Regions from separate parts of the Homo sapiens genome. Here regions 2, 3, 4, 5, 6 and 7 are each linked to region 1. The links are contacts of gene promoters, found by promoter capture Hi-C in blood cells and fetal thymus (Javierre and others, 2016). All regions are on one chromosome and are shown on one strand. Each heading gives the region's core, a stretch centred on a gene start or on the middle of the fragment in contact. The rest is flanking DNA. Distances are from core to core; before and after follow the strand shown.

The links. The method cuts DNA at HindIII sites, captures the fragments that hold promoters and counts their contacts. A CHiCAGO score of 5 or more calls a contact.
Region 2: a contact is called between a fragment that was not itself captured here and the fragment with the promoter of TRMT6 in region 1, in 1 of 17 cell types (naive CD4 T cells). The highest score is 5.4, in naive CD4 T cells.
Region 3: a fragment that was not itself captured here is called in contact with the fragment with the promoter of TRMT6 in region 1 in 2 of 17 cell types (naive CD4 T cells and non-activated CD4 T cells); the score reaches 5.4 in naive CD4 T cells.
Region 4: a fragment that was not itself captured here is called in contact with the fragment with the promoter of TRMT6 in region 1 in 6 of 17 cell types (total B cells, naive CD4 T cells, total CD4 T cells and 3 more); the score reaches 7.3 in total B cells.
Region 5: a contact is called between a fragment that was not itself captured here and the fragment with the promoter of TRMT6 in region 1, in 16 of 17 cell types (naive CD4 T cells, total B cells, naive CD8 T cells and 13 more). The highest score is 15.9, in naive CD4 T cells.
Region 6: a contact is called between a fragment that was not itself captured here and the fragment with the promoter of TRMT6 in region 1, in 13 of 17 cell types (naive CD4 T cells, total CD4 T cells, naive CD8 T cells and 10 more). The highest score is 10.0, in naive CD4 T cells.
Region 7: a contact is called between a fragment that was not itself captured here and the fragment with the promoter of TRMT6 in region 1, in 2 of 17 cell types (megakaryocytes and fetal thymus). The highest score is 7.7, in megakaryocytes.

The regions. Positions count from the first base shown.
Region 1 is chr20:5,948,735-5,952,631 of GRCh38, forward strand. TRMT6 (tRNA methyltransferase 6 non-catalytic subunit) reads right to left here and starts at 1,799. Exons shown (of 11, transcript NM_015939.5): 1 at 1,544-1,799. The coding sequence starts at 1,671. MCM8 (minichromosome maintenance 8 homologous recombination repair factor) reads left to right here and starts at 1,918. Exons shown (of 19, transcript NM_032485.6): 1 at 1,918-2,289; 2 at 3,277-3,429; 3 at 3,690-3,794. The coding sequence starts at 3,282. RefSeq lists an enhancer at 1,795-1,934. The HindIII fragment of the contact is 3,685 bases long and covers 92-3,776 here.
Region 2 is chr20:5,702,329-5,706,225 of GRCh38, forward strand. LOC105372514 (a long non-coding RNA gene) reads right to left here. Exons shown (of 3, transcript XR_937224.1): 3 at 1,304-1,772. Among named protein-coding and RNA genes, the nearest start is that of SHLD1, 46 kb to the right of the region's middle. RefSeq lists a silencer at 15-309. The HindIII fragment of the contact is 548 bases long and covers 1,796-2,343 here.
Region 3 is chr20:5,725,479-5,729,375 of GRCh38, forward strand. No RefSeq gene overlaps it. Among named protein-coding and RNA genes, the nearest start is that of SHLD1, 23 kb to the right of the region's middle. The HindIII fragment of the contact is 792 bases long and covers 1,471-2,262 here.
Region 4 is chr20:5,773,413-5,777,309 of GRCh38, forward strand. All of the region lies in intron 2 of SHLD1 (shieldin complex subunit 1), which reads left to right. Among named protein-coding and RNA genes, the nearest start is that of SHLD1, 25 kb to the left of the region's middle. The HindIII fragment of the contact is 4,576 bases long and covers 1-3,897 here.
Region 5 is chr20:5,791,250-5,795,146 of GRCh38, forward strand. The region is part of intron 2 of SHLD1 (shieldin complex subunit 1); the gene reads left to right. Among named protein-coding and RNA genes, the nearest start is that of SHLD1, 43 kb to the left of the region's middle. The HindIII fragment of the contact is 1,211 bases long and covers 1,031-2,241 here.
Region 6 is chr20:5,815,358-5,819,254 of GRCh38, forward strand. All of the region lies in intron 2 of SHLD1 (shieldin complex subunit 1), which reads left to right. Among named protein-coding and RNA genes, the nearest start is that of SHLD1, 67 kb to the left of the region's middle. The HindIII fragment of the contact is 6,437 bases long and covers 1-3,897 here.
Region 7 is chr20:6,080,689-6,084,585 of GRCh38, forward strand. FERMT1 (FERM domain containing kindlin 1) reads right to left here. Exons shown (of 15, transcript NM_017671.5): 13 at 3,352-3,476. Among named protein-coding and RNA genes, the nearest start is that of LRRN4, 29 kb to the left of the region's middle. The HindIII fragment of the contact is 8,164 bases long and covers 1-3,897 here.

The sequences.
Region 1 (3,897 bases), core at 549-3,048:
GTTGGTGCAGGTATTACATTTCCGGACTAAAAGAAACATACCCCTCATAAAAGAAACTTTTTATCTTTACTAAATTAGTGCTTGTGCAAAAAGCTTGGTTATCACCAGCTTAGTGCTCTGGAGACTTGTTTCTTGACTATTTTATGATGCTTGCTTCACCTTAAATACCAGTCAACAGTTTGCTTAAACCAGGAGTAAAAGAATTCATCTGAAGTAAGTACTTATCAGAAATTCCAAATCTCATACTTCCCAGTCTGCAGAAAGCTGTTCTCCTGACATTGCATTCAACTTATCTCTGTCAAAAGTAATACAATAACCTAGCTCAAAAGAAACTGTGGCCAGGTGCGGTGGCTCACACCTGTAATCCCAGCACTTTGGGAGGCCGAGGCGGGTGGATCACCTGAGGTCAGGAGTTCGAGATCAGCCTGGCCAACATGGTGAAACCCCGTCTCTACTAAAAATACAAAAAAAAAAAAAAAAGATTAGCCGAGTGTGATGGTGCCAGAGTCCCAGCCACTAGGGAGGCTGAGGCAGGAGAATCGCTTGAACCTCGGAGGCAGAGGCTGCAATGAGCCGAGATTGCACTACTGCCCTAAAGCCTGGGTGACAAAGCAAGACTCCGTCTCAAAAACAAAAACACTGTGGTTGTATTTCTCAGATAAATTAATCCAAATATCCCAATAAATTTTCACCATTAATAAGCTCTTAGGACTTAACAACCTCACCAGCCCTTCCAGAAAGTTATCAAAATCCCACTTCTTTACTTCTATAAAACAGAGCGATACTAGCCAGCAGGTGCACAAACCAAACCTAATTTGGAGTTCTGAGGCCTTGAGCAAATTGCTTTTTAGCAATTTTCCCAGCGTTGAATCCTTTGGTGAGTAAAACGAGGGAAACTCAAAGTGATTCCACACTCTGTGGTGAATTGTCTCCTTCATCTATTCTGTGTATCCTGCTTGGGTAGAGAAGAGGATAGAAAGCCAGACTAGGTAGGAGACGTTTCATTTTTTGTGGGATAGATCCTGACTGGGGGATTAGGGAAGAAGGAGGATCTATGGTGGAAAAAAAGGGGGAACCTGAAGGAGACTCTGGAGACAAGGATGAGATCCTAAAGTGAAGAAAGGAGGGGGTGTCTCTGGAAAGACAGTGAAGATCCCAAGGTCCTAGGGAAAGAACTTCAGGACAGGTGATTAGGGTGTGGAGAGGGAGGCATTGGCACCCTAGGGCCAAGAATGGAATTCTGGGGAAGGAACTCTGTGGAAAGACTGAAAAGGATGCTGAAGGTGGACGGCCAGATATGAAATCATGGAGGGGGCTCCGGGAAAAACAGGAGGGTTAAGGGAGATTATGAGGTTCGAAGACGGGATCCTGGTGGAAAAGCCTTCTGTGACAGAAAGACCCGAGGAGACAACGAGGGCGGGGAATGGGGACCGAGAGAGCCAAGAATGGCACCCTGGCGGAAGAATTCTGTGGAGAAACCTGGAGGGAGGGGGTATCTACAAGGTGGGGGCGGGAGACCCCTAAAATCAGCGATCTGACTTACTTTCTCCGCTGGACTTGTACTGCTTTAAACACATCTTCACGTTTCAGCACCACGAAGTCGCCGTCGCGGATGCGGTGGTCTCCGGGATGCTGTGGTTGTGGGCCCGGCTGCTCCCCTGAGCCCTCCATGACGCTCAGCCGGTCGCCGTGCTCCACGGCGTCCCGCCCCTCCTCCTCGGTTGTCGCCACCGCCAGCCTCACTTCCCACAACCTGGCGCACTAGGAGCCCTCCGACCGGCACCGCCCCCACGTGTTGCACGCCGCTTCCGCTTTCCGGCCCAGACCTCAAGACCGCTTCCGGAAGCCTCTCGGCTTCCGTCTGGCCAAACTCCTTGATTGGCTGCACTCCGCCCCGCCCCTCTCGTCTTGCCGCTTCTTTGAGCGGAAGTTGGATCACTGAAGCGCCAAAAAAGAATTTAGGGGAAGACCTGATTTTCGCTTGAGGCATTTTTGCGGCGCTGTGCGCTACAGACACCTTCTGGAAGCTGCGGTGGGGAAACTGAGTTTCCCGAGCCGTTGAGACAGATGGGGTTCAGCACCGCGCGGGGACGACAGGAAAGCTGCGGCTGAAGAGAACTGCGGACTTGGCAGGAGTCGCCTGAGGAGCTAAGATCCCGGAGACTCTTAGCCCCGTGGTGCTTCTCTACGGGAGGGAGGGAGGGAGAATCCGGCCGGACAGATCTGCGCGTATCCTGGAGCCGGCCCAGTTGTGAACTAGGAGAGCTTTGGGACCTCTGTCCCAAGCAAGTAAGAACTTTAGCCTTAGGAGATGTAAATAAAGTAGTATTTGAAGAAGCACAGGTACCCAACTGTTTCTTTTTACTCTTTCTCCAGTCCTACTTCTTAACGTTTTTTTGAATTTGTTACTGTTCTCAGCATATTGTCTCGTTTGAGAAGGGTATGGCACGCAGCGTTGTTGAAGGAGCGCCTCAGCTTGGGAGGCTGAAAGTTTTATCTCTGTACTGTCGACAAACAACTTTGATCTTGATCGGTTTGCTTAATTTCTTTGAGCATCAGTTTCATAATGTGTAATGCCTAATTATTGGAGCCCTGTCATGCCGTTAAATCGTGAACTTTCTAGTTACTATCTTGTTTTATTAACTAAACCCCTTTTAAGTAAGGATTTGGGTAGAGTATTTGATAATGAATTGCACTGCAGCGTACAGGTATATCTTTATTTACTTGTATACTTAGGATATGAATCATTTTTAAGTAGACGTGTATTTTATAAGAACAGTTTTGGATTTACAGAAAAACTGCACAAAAAATGGATGTGACACTGCAGGATTGACTGTATGTAAGAAGCTATGATGATGTATCCCTAGTGTCTCACAGGCCAGAATTATGTTCATCCTGTCCTGCCCTATAATAAGAAGTCTCAAATACTGCAAATAAGTTTTCATAGAGTTAATTACCTGTCCTATTTTCATTTCTGTAATGGGGACTTGTAAACAGGTACAGTACCTGTCCTTATTTTTAACCTGTGAGCGTCTAGTATACGTAAACCATATTTAATAGTTATTAAACTATTATGGTATACCTTAAAAAGCGATAGAGATTAGAAACTTAACTGCAGAATATTTGGGTCTTGTATCATAGCTGTACAACTTTGCAAGCCTGTTTGCTACTCTTGAACCTAGAATACATTAATTTTTCCCTTTTTATTAATACATTTTTAAGAGCACTATTTTCCTTACAGTTTTGGTGAAGACCTTTTTAATATCTATCTTTTAGGAGAGATGAATGGAGAGTATAGAGGCAGAGGATTTGGACGAGGAAGATTTCAAAGCTGGAAAAGGGGAAGAGGTGGTGGGAACTTCTCAGGAAAATGGAGAGAAAGAGAACACAGACCTGATCTGAGTAAAACCACAGGAAAACGTACTTCTGGTAGGTGAGGTCAATGATTGTTCAATTTTTTTCACTTAAGGAAGCAATTCACGTCTATCATACAAGGCGGTTTATCTCATACTTCAGTTTGTCTTTTATTTCATGCTACTCCTTAGTAAGTATTTGAACATTGATGTCCCAGATTTTTACTAAAACCCCTAATTTGGATACTCTATTAATGAGAGTCTCATTTGGAAAGAGAAGCATATTGGAAAAATGTTCACTCTGTTTCTACTAACCTAGTATTTTATTTTTTTCAGAACAAACCCCACAGTTTTTGCTTTCAACAAAGACCCCACAGTCAATGCAGTCAACATTGGATCGATTCATACCATATAAAGGCTGGAAGCTTTATTTCTCTGAAGGTAGGGTTTAAAAAGTACAAAAAAGCACCATAAATCATATTTTCTTAACTTGTCTTTGGATGCTACATCTTGTATTACTGTAATTCATTTACTAACATATACC
Region 2 (3,897 bases), core at 820-3,319, 250 kb before region 1:
CTGTGTAGAAAGAAGTAGACATGGGAGACTTTTCATTTTGTTCTGTACTAAGAAAAATTCTTCTGCCTTGGGATCCTGTTGATCTGTGACCTTACCCCCAACCCCGTGCTCTCTGAAACATGTGCTGTGTCCACTCAGGGTTAAATGGATTAAGGGTGGTGCAAGATGTGCTTTGTTAAACAGATGCTTGAAGGCAGCATGCTCGTTAAGAGTCATAACCACTCCCTAATCTCAAATACCCAGGGACACAAACACTGCGGAAGGCCGCAGGGTCCTCTGCCTAGGAAAACCAGAGACCTTTGTTCACTTGTTTATCTGCTGACCTTCCCTCCACTATTGTCCTGTGACCCTGCCAAATCCCCCTCTGCGAGAAACACCCAAGAATGATCAATTAAAAAAAAAAAAATCAAACTTTTCATTCCCTCTTTACAGTGTTGATGATCTCTATCTGAAAGTCTTGAGTGAATGCCTTTCTGGTTAATCAGTCACCATTGGCTGAGGGCAGGGGCTCACACCTGTAATCCCATCACTTTGGGAGACCGAGGTAGGAGTTTGAGACCAGCCTGGGCAACATTGCAAGACCCTGTCTCTATTTTATTTTATTTATTTATTTTTTTTGAGATGGAGTTTTGCTCTGGTTGCCCAGGCTGGAGTGGAATGGTGTGATTTTGGCTCACCACAACCTCCGCCTCCCAGGTTTAAGTGATTCTCCTGCCTCAGCCTCCTGAGTAGCTGGGATTACAGGCATGTGCCATCATGCCTGGCTAATTTTGTATTTTTAGTAGAGATGGGGTTTCTCCATGTTGGTCAGGCTGGTCTCGAACTCCCGACCTCAGGTGATCCACCTGCCTCATCGTCCCAAAGTGCTAGGATTATAGCCGTGATTAAAATTATTTTTTTAAAAAAGGCTGGGTGCAGTGGCACACACCTGTAATCCCAGTACTTTGGGAGGCCCAGGTGGGAGGATCACTTGAGGTCAGGAGTTTGAGATCAGCCGGGGTAACACAACGAGACTCCTGTCTCTACCAAAAAAAAAAAAAAAAAAAAAAAACAGAATCCTAACAACAATTAAAAAAAAAAGTAACCATCCTTTCTTTCTTAAATGAAGTAATAGCCCAGTTGCCTTTCCCCCTTGTATCTAGTGCTATTTAGAAAGAAATGGGAAACAAAGAGGGAGAGAAAGAGGGAGAAAGCCTAATATAATTGCACACTGACCTGCAAGGTAATTGAGATGCTTTCTCCACACTCCAAGATTTTTCCAAGGATAAAAAAACTTTCATTGTTATATTCGTGGTAAGTTTATATTTACATCAGTGTAATCACTAGCTTAAAGTGTCTGGTGGATTTTCCTGCTGGCAGCTTTGGTGAGTGAGGAACTTTATGCTCCAACAATGGAAAGCCCAAGTCTAGCTTTCCTTGCAGAGCTAAAAGAATGGGTTCCGGGAATGTCACAGCACTGACGTTTTCATTAGTCTGGAAACTTCATCACTGGAGTTGGTGGAAGTAAGATTTAAGTCTCAGATGTGACTTCTACAGTGAAAATACCAAAGAGCCTTCCTATGAATAATTAAATGGCTGTACTGAGCCAGAGCAACAGCAAAAGATAAAAAGCACCCGTTTGTCATCAGCCGGACTTAAAGGGGCTGAGTCCGGTTTTTATTCAACCTGCTTCAAGTGCAGCTGTGTCAGCCTTCACTCTTTTATTGGCAGGAAGGGAAGCTTTTGGTATCAGATGTTCTTCCACAGGAGAACTGCTTGTTTGCTTAGTGAAACTGCAATAATAAAATTAATTAAAAGCTTTTTATCATTTAGCTATAGCACAGAGGAAGTATAAATGGACATTCAAAATGGCAAGATGAGTTCAAGGCCACGTAGCAAATATACCTATAGTCAGTGTAAGGATTAAAACAATTAAGATGCTTTTGTCTTTTAATTTTTTTTTTTAAGAGAGGGTCCTGCTTTGTTGCTCAGGCTGGAGTATAGTGGTGCAATCATGACTCATTTCAGATTCAAACTCCTGTTATCGAGGGATCCTCCCACCTCAGCCTCCCAAGTAGCTGGGATTACAGGTGCACACCACCATGCCCTGCTAATTTTTGTATTTTTTTAATGCAATGGGGTCTCACTATGTTCCCCAGGCTGGTCCCAAACCCCTCGGCTCAAGTGCTCTTCCCACCTCAACCTCCCAAAGTGCTGGGATTACAGATGTGAGACTGTGCCTGACCTAAAATTCTTAAAGTGCTTAGTGCTGGCTCACAGGAAATATTACTATGCGGTAGCAATTCTTATTCCTGACCAGTTTTCTGTATTAGTTTCCTATTGCTGCTGTGACAAATTACCACAAGCTTAGTGACTTAAAACAACACAAATTTGGCCAGGTGCAGTGGCTCATGCCTGTAATCCCAGCACTTTGGGAGGCTGAGGCAGGCAGATCACAAGGTCAGGAGATCAAGACCATCCTGGCCAACATGGTGAAACCTTGTCTCTACTAAAAATACAAAAATTAGCTGGGCATAGTGATGCCTGCCTGTAGTTCCACCTTCTTGGGAGGCTGAGGCAGGAGGATTGCTTGAACCAGGAGGCGGAGGTTGCAGTGAGCCGAGATCGTGCCACTGTACTCCAGCCTGGGCAACAGAGTGAGACTCCATCTCACACACACACACACACACACACACACACACACACAAACAACAAAAAACTACAAATTTATCTTATAGCTCTGGAGTCAGATATTTCAAATGGGTCAGCAGGGCTGCATTCCTACTGGAGGCTCTAGTGGAAAATCTGTTTCCTTGCCTTTTGCAGCTTCTAGAGGCCACCTGTGTTCCTTGGTTCATAGCCCCACATCACTCTGACCTCTGTTTCCATCATCACGTCTCCTTTTCTGACTCTGATCCTCCTGCTTGGCTCCTATAAGGACCCATGTGATGACATTGTACCCACCTGGATAATTCAGAATAATCTTCCCATCTCAAATCTTTAATTTGATCACATCGGCAGTCACTTTTGTCCTGGTAAGGTAATGCCCACAGATTCTGAGGATTAGGGTGTGGTCTTGTTTGGGAAACAGGACATTACTCAGTTTACCACATCTTCTTTCAATTTCACTGCTCTAGGCTGGGCACAGTGGCTCACGCCTGTAATCCCAACACTTTGGGAGGCTGAGGCGGGCAGATTGCTTGAGTCCAGGGGTTCAAGACTAGCCTGGGCAACATGGTGTGATCTCATCTCACAGAAAAATATAAAAATTAGCTGGACATAGTGGAGTGCACCTGTGTCCCAGCTACTCTGGAGGCTGGAGTGGGAGAATTGCTTGAGCCCAGAAGGTCGAGGCTGCAGTGAACTGAGATTGTGCCACTACACTCCAGCCTGGGTGACACAGACCCTGTCTCAAAAAAAAAAAAAAAAAAAAAGAAAAGAAAATTTCTGCTCTATTTTGGCTGAAATGATAGCAGCTTCCATTGACTAGTGCTAGCCCTATGAGGGGGTTTAGAAATGACAGAAAATGCACTGGGTGTAGCAGATGCAGACCGCACTGTTATCCTTGCCCTTATTATTTCTGGGCTCCCTGGCCAGATTTTCAACTGCCCACAGTTATAACTATTTGCCTGAGGGCCTTCTGTGGCTGCCAGAGCTTAACTTGCCCCTGGGAGGCAGATGAGAAGTGTCAAGGAATTAGTCCTCCTCTCTGCCCCAAGCAGCTGTTAATCGATGGCTGATAACGACCCAACTCCCCTGCCCTTTGCTGAGAAAACTCCTAGGTGTGTGTTATACACAGTCTTCTAGAGTTCCCCAGTGGAGGCTGGGAGCAGTGGCTCATGCCTGTAACCCCAGCACTTTGGAAGGCTGAGGCGGGAGGATCGCTTAAGCCCAGGAGTTCGAGACCAGCCTGGGCAA
Region 3 (3,897 bases), core at 617-3,116, 220 kb before region 1:
CGCTTGAACCCGGGAGGTGGAAGTTGCAGTGAGCCGAGATCGTACCACTTTACTCTAGCCTGGGTGAAAAAGCGAGATTCTTTCTCAAAAAAAAAAAAAAAAAAAAAAAAAAGATGAGATGAATTGTCTTGGAGGAAGAAAGAAAGAAGGAAAGGCCAGCTTTGAATTTCTGAATTAGATTAATGGGGTTGAGACTTTTTTTTTTTTTTAATTTTAACAAACAAGCTTGGGCTGGGTGGGATGGCTCATGCCTGTAATCCCAGCACTTTGGGAGGCCAAGGCAGGAGACTGCTTAAGTCCAGGAGTTCAAGACCAGCCTAGGCAACATGGTGAAAGCCTGTCTCTACAAAAAACACAAAAATTAGCTGGGCATGATCGTGTGTACCTGTAGTCCCAGCTACTCGGAGGCTGAAGTGAGAGGATCACTTGAGCCCAGGAGGTCAAGGCTGGAGTGAGCCAAGATCATGCCACTGCATACCACTGTCTGGGTGACAGAGTGAGACTTTGTCTCAATTAAAAAAAAATTAATAAAATAAAGATTAGAAACAAGTTGGAAGCTGGGCATGGTGGTATGCACCTATAGTCCCAGCTACTTGGGAGGCTGAATGGGGAGGATCGTTTAAGACTAGGAGTTCTTAGCCAGCCTGGGCAATTTGAGATCCTGTCTCTAAAAAACATAAAGATTTTTTCCTTTTTTTTAGACAGAGTTTTGCTCTTGTTGCCCAGGCTGGAGTGCAATGGCAGGATCTTGGCTTGCTACAACCTCCACCTCCCAGGTTCAAGCTATTCTCCTGCCTCAGCCTGCCGAGTAGCTGGGATTACAGGCGCCTGCCACCACACCCGGCTAATTTTTGTATTTTTAGTAGAGACAGAGTTTCACCATGTTGGCCAGGCTGGTCTTGAACTCCTGACCTCAGGTGAGGTCCACTCACCTTGGCCTTCCAAAGTGCTGGGATTACAGGCATGAGCCACCGTGCCCAGCTGATTTTTTTAAAGGAAAGAAAAGAAACAAGGTGGGGGAAAAATGTGGTAAGTTGCAGACATCTTGCTATGGTTATTGTGTTTGCAGATAAGAATACCCACTATCAGCCGGGTACAATGGCTCACGCCTGTAATCTCAGCACTTTGGGAGGCCAAGGTGGGCAGATCACGAGGTCAAGAGATCGAGACCATCCTGGCTAACATGGTGAAACCCCGTCTCTACTAAAAATACAAAAATTAGCTAGGCATGGTGGTGTGTGCCTGTAGTCCCAGCTACTTGGGAGGCTGAGGCAGGAGCATCGCTTGAACCCGGGAGGCAGAGGTTGCAGTGAGCCGAGATCATGCCACTGCACTCCACACTCCAGCCTGGCGACAGAGCAAGATTCCATCTCCAAAAATAAAAATAAAAAAAAAGAATGCCCACTATCTTTCAACATTTGTACGTACCTGAGTATTCTCATTACTATCCCTGCAGCACAAATGACTCCAAGCTTAATAGTATAAAACAGCAACCATTTTATCATGACTATGTATCTTATGGGTCAGGTCAGGAATTCAGAAAGAGCAAATCCAGGACAACTCGTCTGGACTCCACAATGCCTGGGGCCTCATTGGAAAGACTCAATCAGCAAGGAGTGACTTTGCAGGTTCTGGCTAAAATAATCTGAATGTTTGCTCACTCGCATGTTTGGCAGGGCATGGCTGAGAACTCAGCTGAGCTGTTGGCTGGGACACCAACACATGGCCTCCAGAGTGCTGCTTGGGCTTCCTCACAGCAAGGCGGCCATGTTCTAACAGTGAGTATCCCATGAGAACCTGGGGGAAGCTATACTCTTATCATCTAGCCTTGGAAGTCACGTGATATCATTTCCACCACAATCACAAACCCACCCAGATTCAAGGGGAGGGAACATAGGTCACACCTCAATGAGAGGAGTGTCAGTTGAATTATAAGAAAAGGGGAAAGGCAGATATTATTGTGGCCATCTCTGGAAAATACAAGGCGCCACACTGGGCATAAAAGACTTTTTAATGTTTCTCAGGTAGTAGAGAGGATAAAAATGACCCTAGCCTTTGAATCTGTTTGCATAGTTTGAAGAAAATTAATTACTATTCCTTTCTCTTCAGACGGGTAAAGGGGAAAGATAATCCTTTGTTTGTTAACATAGAGCCAAGATAGAGAAAGTGAGAAGTATTGGTAAACATACATACTTTGATAATAATGGATCCTCCTTGAAACTCAATAATATATTCAATCTAAGCAAAGCAGCCTAGGGAAGAAGCTTAAGAAAAGCGAATTTGGCAAAGCCAAGTGTCAATGAAGCAGGAAGTCTCTCTGCAGAATCAGCCCCAAACGAATAAGAGAATTACTGGGTTTAATGTAGTACTAATGCCTAACATCCTTTTTTCTCCCCCAGAACCAAATTTTCTGTTTGGAAGTCTTAGTACAACCACACTTTGTAACTAGCCCAAGCAGATATCTCTGCCCCAGTTTCTCCTCCTCTCTCTTCTCCTGCTTTCTCCAGCACCCAACTCTATCCAGACCCAAGGTCGATCTCAACTCCAAAAGGGTGAGTACCTCTGATGAATGGCTAAAACAGAGTGCTTTTCCACCCCACTGCATTTCCTAGAAATTTCTGCTATAAGAGGTTCCTACCATCACCTGAAAATGTATAGTATGATATAGCCCTTCCTTCTCAATTAGTTTTGGGTGTTCATAAATTACAGTACCAAAGGAATGCTCCTAATTACAATGTGATAGGTAGAATTATGGTCTTCCAAAGATATCCACATCCTAATCCCTGGGACCTGTGAATATGTTACTTTACAGGGCAAAAGAGACTTTGCAGAGGTGTTAAGTGAGTGAGAGATGGGGAGATTCTCCTAGATTTGCTGAGTGGGATCAACGTAATCACAAAGGTCCTTATAAGAGGGAGATAGGAGGGCCAGAGTCTCAGAAGAAGATGTAATAAATAAAGCAGAACTTGGGGGGTTCAGGTGCAGAGTGAGAGAGGGAGAGAGGAACAGAGACAGAGGGAAAGAAGAGAAAAGAAAGAGAGAGACTTGAAAATACACCACTGTCTTTGATGCTAAAGGAAAGAGCACAAGCCAAGGAGTGCAGACAGCCTCCTTTTTTTAATTAATTAATTCATTAATTACTTTTTTTTTTTTTTTTGAGGAGTTTCGCTCTTGTTGCCCAGGTTGGAGTGCAATGGCATGATCTTGGCTCACCGCAACCTCTGCCTCCCAGGTTCAAGCAATTCTCCTGCCTGGGACTACAGGTGTGTGCCACCACGCCCAGCTAATTTTGTATTTATAGTAGAGACGGGGTTTCTCCATGTTGGTCAGGCTGGTCTTGAACTCCCAACCTCAGGTGACCCACCCGCCTTGGCCTCCCAAAGTGCTGGGATTATAGCCCTCCTCGGCCTCCCAAAGTGCTGGGATTATAGGTGTGAGGCACCGTGCCCAGCTTTTTTTTTTTTTTTTTAGACAGGGTCTCACTTGTCACCCAGACTGAAGTTCAATGGTGCAATCTCAGCTCACTGCAGCCTCTACCTCCTGGACTCAAGGGATCCTCCTGTCTCAGCCTCTTAAGTAGCTGGCACCTGGTGCACCCCACCACACTCAACTAATTTTTTTTATTTGTAAGGATGAGGTCTCACTATGCTGCCCAGGCTGGTCTTGAACTCCTGGGCTTAAGCAATCCTCCCACCTCGGCCTCCCAAAGTGCTGGGATTACAGGAGTGAGCCACTGCACCCAGCTGCAGGTAGCCTCTTGAAGCTGGAATAGGCAAGGAAACATTCTTCTCTGGAGTCTCCAGAAGGAATTCAGCCCTGCTGACCCAACAAACTGTGTTGTTTTAAGCCACTAAGTTTCTGGTAATTTTTTATAGCAGTAATAGGAAACTAATGCAA
Region 4 (3,897 bases), core at 813-3,312, 180 kb before region 1:
TGTGTGATGAGTAATAAAAATAGAGACTTTAGCATTCCTTGTATGAAGTATGCTGTGGATTTAAGTAACAACCTTTCTACAAGGTTTCCTGACTAGATTGCCGAAACATCTATTATTTAAACTAATGATAATTCCCTGATGTAGGTAGTGGCCGTCTTTAGTGGTAAAGCCCTCTCTTTCATATTAATTACCTGATCTGAGTCTGGAGGCCCGCAGACCTGGATTTATTTATTTATTCATTTATTTCTTGTTAGTTTTGGTTAATCCCCTGGGTTTATCACACAGACCTGGATTTAAAGTTCAGCTCTGCCACTTGCTGGCTATGTGACTTGGGGCGTGTTCCTTAACCCCTCTGAGCTCCAGAGTCGTCTACAAAATGGTGATCAGAATGCTTGCTCCACCCAGTCAGGTTTAGCTTAAGGTAAACCTGTAAGATACTTAGCATGGTTTTTCTGCCATCGATGGGTGCTCAGTCAATGTTGTTGTCGTTAATATTAAGAAATCCAAATGGCCGGGTGTGGTAGCTCACACCTGTAATCCTAACACTTTGGGAGGCCGAGGCGGGTGGATCACCTAAGGTCAGGAGTTCAAGACCAGCCTGGCCAACATGGTGAAACCCTGTCTCTACTAAAAATACAAAAATTAGCCAGGTGTGGTGGCGGGCGCCTGTAATACCAGCTACTCGGGAGGCTGAAGCAGGAGAATCGCTTGAACCCGGAAGGTGGAGGTTGCAGTGAGCTGAGATCGTGCCACTTCACTCCAGTCTGAGCGAAAGAGCAAAACTCTGTCTCAAAACAAAAAACAAAAAACAAACAACAACAAAAAACAAATCCAAATATATATTTTTAGAAAGAACTCATTGTGGGTACTAAGCAAATGTAGGCTTTAATGATGATGAATTCAGTGATGACTACAGGTAGGATGTGTAACTGTCATTGCCTTCAAGAATTCTATGGAGAAATATGTTTGGGATTCTCTGCTGATTTTCAGGACACAGAGTAATCAGGATCAGTAAGTCTCCTGTTTAATTTAGTACCTGACTGTGTTAGTTCATTCTCACACTGCTATAAAGAGATACCTGAGACTGGGTAATTTATAGAGAAAAGAGGTTTAATTGGCTCACAGTTCTGCAGGCTGTACGGGAAGCATAGAAGCACCTGCTAGGCATCAATCAGGGCGGAAGGCAAAGGGGAAGCTGGCACTTCACATGGCTGAAGCAGGAGGAAGAAAGAGAGGGGGAAGGTGCTACACACTTTTAAACAACCAGATCTCATGGGAACTCAGCACCAAGGGGATGGTGCTGTAAACCAATTAGGAGGAACTGCCCCATGAACCAATCACCTCCCACCAGGCCCCACTTCCAACACTGGGGATGACAATTCCACATGACATTTCGGCAGGGACACAAATCCAAACCATATCACTGACCAAGAATTAGATAATTCTTTATCCTTTTCCTTTCTAGACTTAACATCTTAGTTCCTTTAACCTTCCCTTTTTTCCCTGCCATCCTGCTGCCTCTACATGACTTTCCATCCCTAAAACTGATTTTGTTCATCATCCCTGGGTAGCAACAGCATTTCTTAGAATGAGTGAATGGAGGCAGTTGAACAGAACTTTGTTTGTGTATGTATTTATTTATTTAGAGACAGGGTTTTGCTCTGTGCCTAGGCTGGAATACTGTGGTGCCATCATAGCTCACTGCAGCCTTGAACTCCTGAGCTGAAGCTATCCTCCTGCCTCAGCCTCCCAAGTAGCTGGGATTACAGGCTCACATCACCATACATGGCTTTTTTTTTTTTAATTTTTTTGTAGAGACAGGGTCTTGCTGTGTTGCCCAGGCAAGTCTCGAACTCTTGGCCTCAAGTGATCCTCCCACCATGGCCTCCCAAAGTGCTGGGATAATGGGAGTGAGCAACCATATCCAGTTTGAACAGAACTTTAGAAGTATTAGCATGTTGAAATACTTCAAGGCAATGGCTCTATTCCCTTAGGGAATTCAGTGTGGACTCAGTTTTTACTTTTTATTGCCTGTTAGTTGACTAATCTGTAGAAAAGCAACTGTTATTAATTGGAATTGGTTGACAGCTCTAAAAATAAGGAGCATGTTGAAATATTTATGTAGGGGTATTTGTTAAAAATATGGATATTCTATGCCAAAAAGGTTGTTTGGGGAACCCATGTCTAAACATGGGAAGGGGTACTCAAACGCTAAGACAACCATTTTACACGGTAGTAGTGGTGGTCGTGCTGGATTAGACAGCCTGGTTGGAATTCTGGTTCTGCTTCTTCCCCTGGTTTGACTTTGGGCGAGCCACTTAGCCCCTCTGTACCTGTCTCCTTATTTGTAAAATGGAGATGATAACAGCACCTCCTTGTTGGGGAGGTTATAAGGTTGTACAAGGTAGTGCATGAGGCATAGTGTGTGGCAGGGAGTGGACTCTCAGGAGATCCAATTCCTCATCAGCTGGGGTGCTTAGCACACTGCAGTACTGCCTGGTCAGCTCAGGATTTTTTTTTTTTTTTTTTTTTTGAGATGGAGTCTCGCTCTGTCACCCAGGCTAGAGCACAGTGGCGTGATCTTGGCTCACTGCAACCTCCACCTCCCAGGTTCAAGCAATTCTCCTGTCTCAGCCTCCCAAGTAGCTGGAATTACAGGTGAGCGCAACCACACCTGGCTAATTTTTGTGTTTTTAGTAGAGACGGGGTTCACCATGTTGGCCAGGCTGGTCTTGAACTCCTGACCTCAAGTGATCCACCCGCTGTGGTCATCCCAGGCATGAGCCACTGCTCTGGGATTACAGGCGTGAGCCACTGCGCCCAGCCAGCTCAGGCTTTTATCACAAATACCATACACTGGGTGGCTTCTCACAGCTCCAGAGGCTGGAAAGTCTAAGGTCAAGGTGCCAGCAGATTTGGTGTCTGGTGCTGTCCCTGTTCTTGATTTGTAGACAGCCACCGTCTTCCTGTGTCCTCATATGGCCTAGAGAGAGAGCCTCTTTCTCATGTCTCTTATAAGGGCACTAATGCCATCATGAGGCTTCCACCCTCAAAACTTAATTACCTCTAGCTGGGCACAGTGGCTCATGCCTGTAATCCCAGCACTTTGGGAGGCCGAGGCGGGTGCATCGCCTGAGGTCAGGGGTTCTAGACCAGCCTGGCCAACATGGTAAAACCCTGTCTCTAATAAAAATACAAAAATTAGCCGGGCGTGGTGGCAGGCGCCTGTAATCCCAGATACTCGGGGGCCTGAGGCAGGAGAATCACTTGAACCCAGGAGGTGGAGGTTGTAGTGAGCCAAGACCGCACCATTGCACTCCAGCCCCGGCAACAGAGCAAGACTCCGACTCAAAAATAATAATAATAATAAATAAGTAAGCATAAAAAAAAAGCATTCACATTGGTTTACTCATCCTACCCCATGGAAGGCTCTGGGTGTGATAATTGCTCTCTGCATACTCCACACTGCAGTGTTTTAGGGCACATTAATAGTGATCACTCCCATTTATTGAGCATTTACTACCTGTCAGGTTTTATACTGTCAGGCTCCATGCTAAATATTTCACAAACATCATCACTTTTTTTTTTTCTTTTCAAGACAGAGTCTCACTCTGTTGCCCAGGCTGAGTGCAGTGGCACAATCTCGGCTCACTGCAACCTCCACCTCCCTGGTTAAAGCAATTCTCCTGCCTCAGCCTCCTGAGTAGCTGGGATTACAGGCGTGCACCACCATGCCCAGCTAATATTTATATTTTTAGTAGAGATGAGGTTTCACCATGTTGGCAAGGCTGGTCTTGAACTCCTGACCTCAAGTGATCCACCTGCCTCAGCCTCCCAAAGTGTTGGGATTACAGGTGTGAGCCACCACACCCAGCCCAAACATCACCACTTTTAATT
Region 5 (3,897 bases), core at 386-2,885, 160 kb before region 1:
CAAATAAATAAAAGTTATAAAAAGAAGCAAGTCAGTTGGGCACAGTGGCTTCCACCTGTAATCCTAGCACTCTGGGAGGCTGAGGCAGTAGATGGCTTGAGCCCAGGAGTTCAAGACCAGTCTGGGTAACATGGCGAAACCTCGTCTCTACAAAAAATACAAAAATTAGCTGGGTGTGATGGGGCACTCATGTAGTCCCAGCTACTTCGGGAACTGAGCTGGGAGGATCGCTATTGTCCTGGAGGTCGAGGCTGCAGTGAGCCATAATTGCACCACTGCACTCCAGCGTGGACCACAAAGCAAGACCCTGTCTCAAAAAAAAAAAAAAAAAAAAAAGGAAATGATATAAATGATAGAACTGAAAAATATAGCCAAACATTGATAAATTGGACCTCATAAAAATTAAAAACCTTTGCTTTGTGAAAGCCCATGTGAAGAGAATGAAAAGACAGGCCACAGACTGGGAGAAAATATTTGCAAATCCCATACCTGACAAAGAACTAGTTTCTACAATATGTAAAGAACTCTCAAAACTCGACTCTCAAAAAAAAATGCAGTTCACTTTTACAGGTCAATACACAATTCAGTTTCTCCACATCCTTGCCAACAACACTTGTTATTTTCTGCTTTTTTGATAGTGACCATCCTAATGGGTGTGAGGTGATATCTCACTCTGGTTTTGACTTGCACTTTTCTGATGATTGGTAACGTTGAACATATTTTCCACATGTTTATTGGCCATTTGCATACCATCTTTGAAGAAACATCTATTGAAATCCTTTGCCTATTTTTAAAATTGGGTTGATTTTTTTTGTTATTGAGTTGTAGGAGTTCTTTATGTATTCTAGATACTAACTTCTTATCAGATATGTGATTTGCAAATATTTTCTTCCTTTTTATAGATGGCCTTTTCACTCTGTTGATTATGTCCTTTGATGTGCAAAAGTTTTTGAGTTTGTCCATTTTTGCTTTTGTTTCCTGTACTTTCGGTGTCATGTCTAAGAAATCATTGCCAAGTCTAATGTCATGAAGCTTTTCCTCTGTGCTTTCTTCTAGGAGTTTTATAGTTTTAGGGCTTATGTTTAGGTCTTTAATCCATTTTTGAATTAATTTTTGTATATTGTGTAAGATAAGGTTTTGAGTTTGTTCTTTTTATCTTTTTGTTTGTTTGTTTGTTTTTGTTTTTTTGAGACAGAGTCTCACTGTATCCCTCAGGCTGAAGTACAGTGGCATGATCTCGGCTTACTGCAACCTCTGCTTCCTGGGTTCAAGCGATTCTCATGCCTCAGTCCCCCAAATAGCTGGGATTACACGTGTGTGCCACCACGCCTGGCTAATTTTTGAATTTTTAGTAGAGACAGAGTTTCACCATGTTGGCCAGGCTGGTCTCGAACTCCTGACCTCAGGTGATCTGCCGTTTTCTTTTTTTTAAAAAAAAAAAAGAAAAAGAGTCTTGGTCTGTTGCCCAGGCTGGAGTCCAGTGGCATGATCCCGGCTCACTGTAGCCTCTGGCTCCTGGGTTCAAGAGATTCATGTGCCTCAGCCTCCCGAGTAGCTGGGATTACAGGCGTGCGCCAATATGCCTGGCTGATTTTTTGTATTTTTAGTAGAGACGGGGTTTCATCATGTTGGCCAGGCTGGTCTCGAACTCCCGATGTCAAGTGATCTGCCCACCTCGGCCTCCCAAACTGCTGAGATCACAGGCATGAGCCACCACGCCTGGCCTCGACTTTGTTCTTTTGCATGTGGATATGCTGTTTTCCCCTCACCATTTGTTGGAGAGACCTTCTTTTCCCTATTGAGTAGTCTTGGCACCCTTGTCAAAGATCATTTGAGCATATACGTAAGGGTTTATTTCTGGGTCTTTGTCCTGTTCCATTGGTCCGTATGTCTGTCTTTATGACAGTGCCACACTGTTTTGATTACTGTAGCTATGTTTTGAATCAGGAAGTGTGGGTCCTCCAACTTTTTTTTTCCTCGGAATTGTTTTTGCTATTTGGAGGTCTGTATGTATTCTTTTTTGATGTACCTATAAATATATTTTAGTGTGGATAAATATGTGCATGTAAATTTATGTATTTTAGTGCATTTGTTTATGTAGAGATTTTAACAACAAAAAACCTGTAACAAAAACATGCTGTTCTGCAACTTGCCTTTTAAAATTCCACATTAGGCCAGGCACAGTGGCTCACGTTGTGGGTTTTTTTTGATGTATAGAGATTTTAGATTCCTATATAGTCAAGCTTATCAATCAATGCTTCTGCTTTAGCATAAAATTAGGAAAACCATTCTTGCTTTCCAAGATTATATAAATAGGCACCTCCATTTCTTAGTATTTTTAAAAGTTTAATTTTCAACTTTGAAGTCTTTATTTTAGGGTAAAGTATGAAACAAGATGATAGCTCTATTGTTTTCCAAATGGAAGCCAGTTGTCTCAATGTTATTTATTTAATCATTGTATTCCTTTCTCTCTGGTATTTTTTTTCTTTCACTTTTGTTGCCCAGGCTGGAGTGCAGTGACACGATCTCGGCTCACTTCAACCTTCGTCCCTGGTTCAAGTGATTCTCCTGCCTCATCCTCCTGAGTAGATGGGATTATAAGCACATGCCACCGTGCCTGGCTAATTTTTTTGTATTTTCAGTAGAGACAGGGTTTCACCATGTTGGCCAGGCTGGTCTTGAACTCCTGACTTCAGGTGATCTGCCCACATCAGCCTCCCAAAGTGCTGGGATTACAGGCCTGAGCCACCACGCCAGGCCCCTTTCTCTCTGGTTTTAGATGTTCCCCTCACTTAAAAAAAAAAATCACGTTCTACATTTTCTGATTGTTTGTTTGTTTTGGAGCCTGACTGGTCTGAGTTTTCACCTTGATTCTATAGCTAGCTAAACATGCTAGCTTTCTGACCTTGAGCAAGTGACTGCACTTCACTCTTTCTTAGTTTCCTCATCTATAAGATGAGGACAATAACACTATCTGCTTCATAGGTTGTCATGAGGATTGAGTGAGACACCTGGAGCTGAGTAGACTTAGCAAAGGCTAGCTGTCATTACCACCACTGCTGTTACAACTAGTGCTGCTACTGGGGTTGGTTTCTGGATTCACTTCTTTCTTGAGTTCCTTTCAGGAGTCTAAGACTTCCACTTCTTTATGTTGCTCAGTACGAGGCAAAAAAGTGACTTTTCCTGGGACAGGCCCCTTACAGAGAAGTTATTCGGATTAACACTGACCAAAAGTATCTATAGAATTACTTCTTAGCATTTGCTATGAAAATATATATTTTCTGCTAACTTTGGATATAATTTTAGGCAAATTATTGCATCCTGTTCTTATATAATCTCTTCATTGTGAGTGTCATGTATATTTGTCAACAGATGCCTTCTTATTTGCAAAGTGCTTTGATTTGTATTTGAAAGGTGTTCCTATGTTGTATTCTACAAATAGTCTTATGGTGAAGGATCCCTGTTAATCTGGGGTGTCTTTAAGCAAAGCCATGTTTGTGAGACTGTATTAGATACTATGTTTATTAGACGTCTAATCAGTGAAATGAATGAGACCATTTTTAAAATTGTTTTCTCTGTACCGTGCTACAGATTGAGGGTGATATAAATCAGTGAGAACACAGGATTCCTGTGCTCATGGAGTTGATCGTCTAGTTGGGAAAATAAGATATGTAAACTTATTTGTTTACATATGTAAACAAAGTGATGGCCGAGCTTGGTGGCTCACACCTGTAATCCCAGCACTTTGGGAGACCAAGGTGGGCAGATCATCTGAGGTCAGGAGTTCGGGACCAGCCTGGCCAACATGGTGAAACTCTGTCTCTACTAAAAATTCAAAAATTAGCCAGGCGTGGTGGCACACACCTGTAATCCCAGCTACTCGGGGGGCTGAGGCAC
Region 6 (3,897 bases), core at 971-3,470, 130 kb before region 1:
CTTCTCAAAATGTAATGTGACTATTAACCACCCAGGGATCCTATTAAAATACAGATTCTAATTCAGTAAAGTGTGAGGTGGAGGCCAATGATGTGTAAATAAGACCATAGAGCAGGAGTCAGCAGCCTCTGGCCTGTGGACCAATTCTGACCCTATGCCTGTTTTTGTACAGCCTGCAAGCTAATAATGACTTTCACATTTTAAAATGATTATTTTTAAAAAGAAGAAGATGTAACTGGGCATTGAAGGTCCACAAAGCCTAAAATATTTACTATCTGGCCCTATACAGGAAAAGTTTGCTAACCCATGATCTATCTTCATAAGGTTCCCCATAACCACTGAAAGTCTCTTCTCAGTATTATCCCACTTTATTGGATCCTATAGCCTCTTGTCTTAGGAATTCCCATACTTAGGAATTTGTTTTTATATAAAAGAAATGAGGTCTGGGTATAGTGGCTCATGCCTGTAATCCCAGCACTTTGGGAGGCCATGATGGGCTGATTGCTTGAGGCCGGGAGTTTGAGAGCAGTCTGGCCAACATGGCAAAATCCTGTCTCTACAGAAAATACAAAAATTATCCAGGTGTGGTGGTGTGTGCCTGTAATTCCAGCTACTCCAGAGGTTGAGGCATGAGAATCACTTGAACCCAGGAGACAGAGGTTGCAGTGAGCTGAGATCACACCACTGCACTCCAGTCTGGGTGACAGAGTGAGACTCTGCCTCAAAAAAACGAAAAAAAAAAAAAAAAAAGAAAGAAAAAGAAATGGCATAAACTGGTAGAATACACAGCCCATGAATTGTTGGTCATAAAATTAACTGCAAATGTAAATATTATTTTAAAATTTCAACTCTATATTTTTTAAAAATTATTTTGTGATTTTATTGTAAATGTAGTTCCAAAAAGACACATTTTCCTTGAATGACATTTTTTTTATTTTAAGTAAAGATTGCCAGGACAGAGAGAACCAAGAGTCACTGAAGATTCCCCTTCAGAAATAGTAAAGTTCTACTGCGTATATTCGGGGTTTGCCAACAATGATTTGAAAAATAAAAGGTTGCTTTCTACTGAAATGCTGAATGAATAAATTTGGGTGCATGAGAGATTCACTGTCTGTGGGTAAACAAGGGGCAGTGTGAGTCTTAAAAAGGAAGATTGTTGAGGGCAATATCTACATTTCACAGATGAGGAAACTGAGCTTTGGAAAATGCAAGTGAAAATCTGAGGACCATAGCGAAATAGTGGCAGGACGAGAACTGGAAGTTGCTCTCCTGATTTGTTTCCAGTTCATATTTTTTCTGTGATTCTGCATTCTACTCAAGAACTAATATTATGATTAAAATGCCTGACAGTATAAAAGGACCAGTTTAAAAACTATCACAGATATTCCTATTTGTCATACATTATGTTTTCCTTTAAGACCCTGAGGATAGGCTGGGCGCAGTAGCTCACACCTGTAATCTCAGCACTTTGGGAGGCCGAGGCGGGTGGTTCACTTGAGCTCAGGAGTTCAAGACCAGCCTGGGCTACATGGCAACCCTGTCTCTACAAAAAATACCAATAAATAGCTGGGCGTGGTGGTGCCTGCCTGTAGCCCCAGTTATCTTGGGGGCTGAGGCAAGAGGATCACTTGAGCTCAGGTGATGGAGGCTACAGTGAGCCGAGATTGTGCCACTGCACTCCAGCCTGGGTGACAAAGTGAGACCCTATCTCAATAAATAAATAAAATGAAAATAAAACCTTGAGGATATTTATAATATTAGCTGCTTTCACGTCCTTGTTTGTTAATTCCATCATCTTTATCATTTCAAGATCTGTTTCTGTTGACTGATTTTTCTCCTGATTATAGGTAATATTTTCCTGCTTCTTCCCATGTCTAGTAATTATGAGATGCTGGACTTAGTGATATTACATTGTAGAGTGTCTGTATTTTGCTGCCTTTTTATAAAAAGTATCAAAGTTTGTTATGGCAGGCAGTTAAATTACTTGCTTATCAACTTGATCCTTTCAAGACTTGTTTTTAAGCTCACGGGATATTTTCTCTCTCTCTCTCTCTCTCTCTCTCTCTCTCTCTCTCTGTGTGTGTGTGTGTGTGTGTGTGTGTGTGTGTGTGTGTGTTGGGATTACAGGCGTGAGCCACTGCATCCAGCCTAAACTCACTAGGGAGATTTTTTGAATAGCCTGTACTCTGTAGCTAGTTTAGCTTGCTACCAAGGTTTAGCCTTTCTGGGTCTGTACTGAATATCCCAGGTATTCAACAGTCATCTCACTCTGGCTGTCAGAACATGCATGTCTCCCAGCCCTGTGTGAGTTCTGGAAGTTGTTCAGCTCACAGCTCCCCTGGCTGTGCCTGGCATTATGACTTAGTGTTCACTGTGAAATACTCAAAAGAATCCCTATGCTGATTTCTGGAGCTCTTTATCTGTTTAGCTCCCTCATCTCCAGGACTCAGCTTCAGAAATTCCAGGCACCTGAAACTGATCTCTGTCTCTTTGCTGAGGAAACTGCTGTGAGGCAGTGAGATTGCTGTGCTCTGTTTGGATTCCCCTTCCCTGCGCTGTGGTCTAGGAAGTGCCTCCAGCAGAACACTGGGGGCAATTGTAGGCACATCTTGCGTCCCTTCTCTCAGTGATCAAAGTCCTATACTAACTGTGACCAGGATCTGAAAGCAGTTGTTTTTTGTCCAGTTTTCTTTTCTTTTTCTCCTTTTTTTCTTTTTCTTTCTTTTTTTTATTTTTTTATTTTTTTTGAGACAGCCTTGCTCTGTTGGAGTGCAGTAGCACTATCTCGGCTCACTGCAACCTCTGCCTCCCAGGTTCAAGCGATTCTCCTGCCTCAGCCTCCCAAGTAGCTGGGATTACAGACACCTGCCACCACGCCTGGCTAAGTTTTGTATTTTTAGTAGAGATGGGGTTTCACCATGTTGGCCAGGCTGCTCTAGAACACCTGACCTTAAGTGATCCACCCGCCACAGCCTCCCAAAATACTGGGATTACAGGCGTGAGCCACTGCACCAGGCCATTTTGTCCAGTTTTATAGCCATTTATAGCAGAAGGGCAAATTTGGTATAGTTAACTCTGCCATTGCCAGAGGCTGTTCACTTAGATTTGTCTTGTAACATTTTTCTGTAGTAAGTAAAGGCAGGGATCCTGTACCCATTTTATAGGTTAAATAATGCAGAGTTGCCAAGAAATAAGAGGGTTGGAATCACATACTGGGTTGGTTGGTAGGTAGGTCATATGATCCAGGAACTCTTGGTCCTTGCAAGGAGATAGGAGGAAATGCTCAAATTTGTCTCCCCAAATGGGGGCCTGGGTTGAGGTTTATAAGCATATGGTAATGAGGCGTGAATGAGGTGACTGGATTGATCTTGGAATGAGGTGATTGATTGGATCTTACAATAAGGCGATGATGTTGGGGGTCATGATCTAACTGGAATCCACCATGGGGTGACTCCAGGGCTCAATCTGATTGGATCCTGGATCCTGCCATGCAGTGTCCACTTCTGTTTTGTTTTGTTTTGTTGAGATGGAGTCTTGCTCCATTGTCCAGGCTGGAGTGCAGTGGCATGATCTCAGCTCACTGCAACCTCTGCCTCCTGGGTTCAAGCAATTCTTGGGCCTCAGCCTCCCAAGTAGCTGGGACTACAGGTGTGCGCCATCACACCCAGCTGATTTTTGTGTTTTTAGTAGAAACAGGTTTCTCCATGTTGGCCAGGCTGGTCTTGAACCCCTGACCTCAAGTGATCTGCCCGCCTCAGCCTCCCAAAGTGCTGGGATTACAAGTGTGAGCCACCGTGCCCCGCCAGTGTCTACTTCTTAATTCAGTCCCACTCCTCGGTCTGAGCACTTAGGTTCCCCCTAGTGGAACTAAGCATGGTTGCATGCTTGGTTCATCTG
Region 7 (3,897 bases), core at 1,064-3,563, 130 kb after region 1:
AAAGAGCAGAGTCAAGAATGACTCCAAAGGATTTGGCCTGAACATCTAGGGCGAGGAGTTGCCTTCTACTGAGATGAAGAAGTATGTAGCGGGGAGCCAGTTTAGGGGGAAGATCCGGAACTTTGGACATGTAAAGATGAGATGCTCATTAGATATCCAAGGGTCACTGGATTTATGAATCTCCAGTTCAAGAGACAGTTCTGGGCTCAAGATATATATTTCAGAGTAATTGGCATATAAATGAAGTCAAAAGAATGGCTGAACCCAAGAAGGTGAGTAGAGATTGAGAAGAGGAATGCTTTAAGAACTGAGGCCTGGCTGGGTGCAGTGATTCACATCTGAAATCCCAGCACTCTGGGAGGCCGAGGCAAGGGGATTACTTGAAGCCAAGAGATTGAGAGCAGCCTGGGTAACACAGTGAGATCCCATCTCCTAAAAGAAAGTTAGCTAGGTGTGGTGGCTCACAAGTCGCAGCTACTTGGGAGGCTGGGGTGAGAGGATCACATGAGCCCAGGAGTTTGAGGTTATAGTGAGCCATGATTGTGCCACTGTGACAGAGTGAGATCCTGCCTCTAATTAAAAAAAAAAAAAACCAAAAAACTGAGGACTGTGCACTCTGGTATTATAAGAGATTGGAAAGATGAGAAAGAACCAGCCAAGGAGACCAAAAGAACTGGTCAGTGAGGGAGGAGAAAAGCCAGGAAAGTCAGCTGTGTTGGAAGGCAAGTGATGCAAGTTGGCAAAGGGTAAGGGGTGACTCATTGTGTCAAATGCTGCGGAGAGGGTAGCTGGTGCAAGGACTGAGAGGCGACCAATGGACTCAGCAATGTGAAGGTCATGGGTGGCCAAGAGGTGACCTTGATGACAGAAAGTAGCAGGGGCAGTGGGGTAGGGAGGGAGAGAAAACCTAACTGGAGTGGTTTCAAGAGAGAATGGAAGCAAGGAATTGGAGGTAGTAGGTACGTACAATACATTCAAGAAGTTTTACTGCAAATTAGGGCAGAGCTTGGGGAGAGCAGCTGGAGGGGGTTGCAAGAAGGGGAAACTGATGTGAAAAATGATGCTGCAGGAGACAGAAAAGCATAATTTTAAAAGAATTCCTAGCTGAATATGTCACTTTTCACATCATTCTTATCTTCTGCATGTCACCCTTGGTTAAAATTTACTCCCCTGTTCTGGAATGTTTTCCACATTATTCCTTCATTTCACCACCTTAATGCTTAATATCACAAATTAACCCACTTCTTACTCCACCCGCTTCTCTCTAACCTATGGGAGTTCCCTGGGCTGCTCTCCATCATCCAGGGAGCGGTGAAGCAAGGACCTAGGTCTCTCGGGTGTGGGCAGATCCCGATTCCGCCAGACATCCTACACACAGCATGGCTGCTCCAGGCTTTGACTCTGACTGACCTTGGAAAAAGCAGATCTTCGCTACACCTGGGCCCACTGCCTCAAAGCCTCACCTCCATAAACAGGTGTTAGAGATAGAGGGAGGTGCAGGGGGAAGTAGCTGGTAAAGGAGGAGTTGTCACCGGAAAGTTGTTCAGGCCCACACCACGCTTCACCACGTATCAGGCACTTTGCTTGCAGGCTGCACTGGATTCTCTCAACACAGTAGGTTCGGAGAGCCCACTGGACACATGGAGAAGCTGCGCTTGGGGAGCGCAGCAAAAATGCCCGGGTCACAGAGCTAGCAGAGGCAGAGGTGAGACTGAAAGCTGGGCCTGGTCAGTTCAAGTATTTATGTGGTTTTCACTATGCGGGGTTGACTTCAGGGTTACAGGTGAGTGTGTGTGTGTCCGCACATGGACACATATGCGCGCACATAGTGGGTATCCAGTACGACTCCGCGCTTCCTCACTCCTTTGTTGGGGTAAGTAAAGCAGAAGGAGTTGCTTGTTTGGGACAAACGTTGGGGACTGATATTCAATGAGATATTTCAGTGAATAGGAAAGTCTGTTTTTTCTGTTGTTTTGTTTTTGTTTTAGAGACAGTCTCACTGTGTCGCCTAGGCTGGAGGGCAGTGGCGCGATCTCAGCTCACTGCAACCTCCACCTCCCAGGTTCAAGTAATTCTAGTGCCTCAGCCTCCTGAGTAGCTGGGACTACAGCTGCACACCACCACGCCCAGCTAATTTTTTTTTGTATTTTTAGTAGAGATGGGGTTTTGCTACGTTGCCCAGAGTGGTCTTGAACTCTTGAGCTCAGGCAATCCGTCCACTTTGGCCTCCCAAAGTGCTAGGATTACAGGCGTGAGCCACCGCGCCCAGCTGGAAAGTCTGAATAGACTCCCCTGTTAGAAGTAATGGAGGAATGGAGTCTTTGGAAAGGGCCAAGAAAACAAAAACTGCCAATGATTAAAAATACAAACCAATTATCCCACCCCGAAATTATAAGATGAGAAAGTGACAGTACTTGCTGTACTGTAGGATTGGGGGTAGATTTTGCTTAAGCATCAGTCTCCTTTTCTGAACTGAAGAATGTAATTTGATTTACAAGCATGCTTGTGGATATGTTTTGGGAAACCATCCATTGTATACAGTGGGGCAGAGCCATAGTGCTAGGCGGGGATAACAAATGAGGATGCAGGGCTTTATGCCAAGTGTGCCCTGGACTGGGGGTGAACTTGGACAAGTCACTTAAGCTGTCTTTCTGGGGGCAATAGATGGGCCTCCTATGCATCCTTCAGACCCAGAAATCTTCAGAGACCAGTGAGAACAGGGTTGCTACCTGATAAACCTGGGTAGAAATAAGACAGAGCTTGCGGGGACCTCTCTAAAAACCTAACAATTCTGCAAAGCCACACCACGAGACACTATGAGACACAAAAAGGAGGAAGCTGACATGAAAGAAAGTCGTAGCCAGGTGTGGTGGCTCATGCCTGTAAACCCAGCACTTTGGGAGGCTGAGGTGGGAGGATTGCTTGAGATCAGGAGTTCGAGACCAGCCTGGGCGGCAAAATGAGACACCCCCCCCCCCGGCCACCCTCCCCACACCCGATCTCTTAAAAAAAAAAAACAAAAAAAAAAAAACCGAAAAGAAGTTACAGATTTCATAAAATCAATATGTGATGTTTACCCTCTGGTTTTGGAAATGTAGTTATCCTAAAAAAAACCCTCCTTTTAAAATTTCCTTTCCCACATTTAGCTGAGTTTCAGGGGTATTGGAACTTAGAACAGAAGGTATGGAAAATGTTTATGAGCAGCCCAAAGTGTCAGGACTATTTATAAAAGGGCAATATTCTCAAATAAAAAGCATTCTATATTCTATGCTAAATGAGAAAACTGGGGCTCCCCAAAAGCCACTTAAAATTGAATGGAAAGTGTGAGAAACAAGTGAACATTGTAATCACCTGACAAGGTAGTAGGTGAGGCCAAACTCAGGCAGTGACTGCCACGCCTGGATGAACCGCAGCTTGGCTTCGACCAGGGGCATCTGGGCCACGTTCTGGTGCGCCTCCAGGATCCGGGCGGCCAGCTGAACAGAAACAGACATCAACCTCTCTTCACATGCACCGGCTGCTCTGTGATCACCCTGTTAGCTCCAGATCCCCCATAAGAACAATACACTCAAGGTCCGTCTGCAGCTCTACAAAGACAATCCATTCTCATCCATTCATTCTCTCTCTTTTTCTACAAGATACAACAATCACTGGAAGAAGCAGGAAAAGGATCACCCAACACATAAACTTCTAAAGTTGGTGCAGTTGGAGAGCTCTGGGGTCCCTCTGTCTGAGGTCTGTGGAGTGTCCACAGACAATGATTCTACATGAATCAGCTCATCTGTGCAACTTTTAACCCACTCCTATAGAAGCATAATTTTAATTATTAATTTGTGAGAACTAAATAAGTTCAATCTGGGAATACCTACATGTTTAGTCAGCAGTACAGTCACCTCT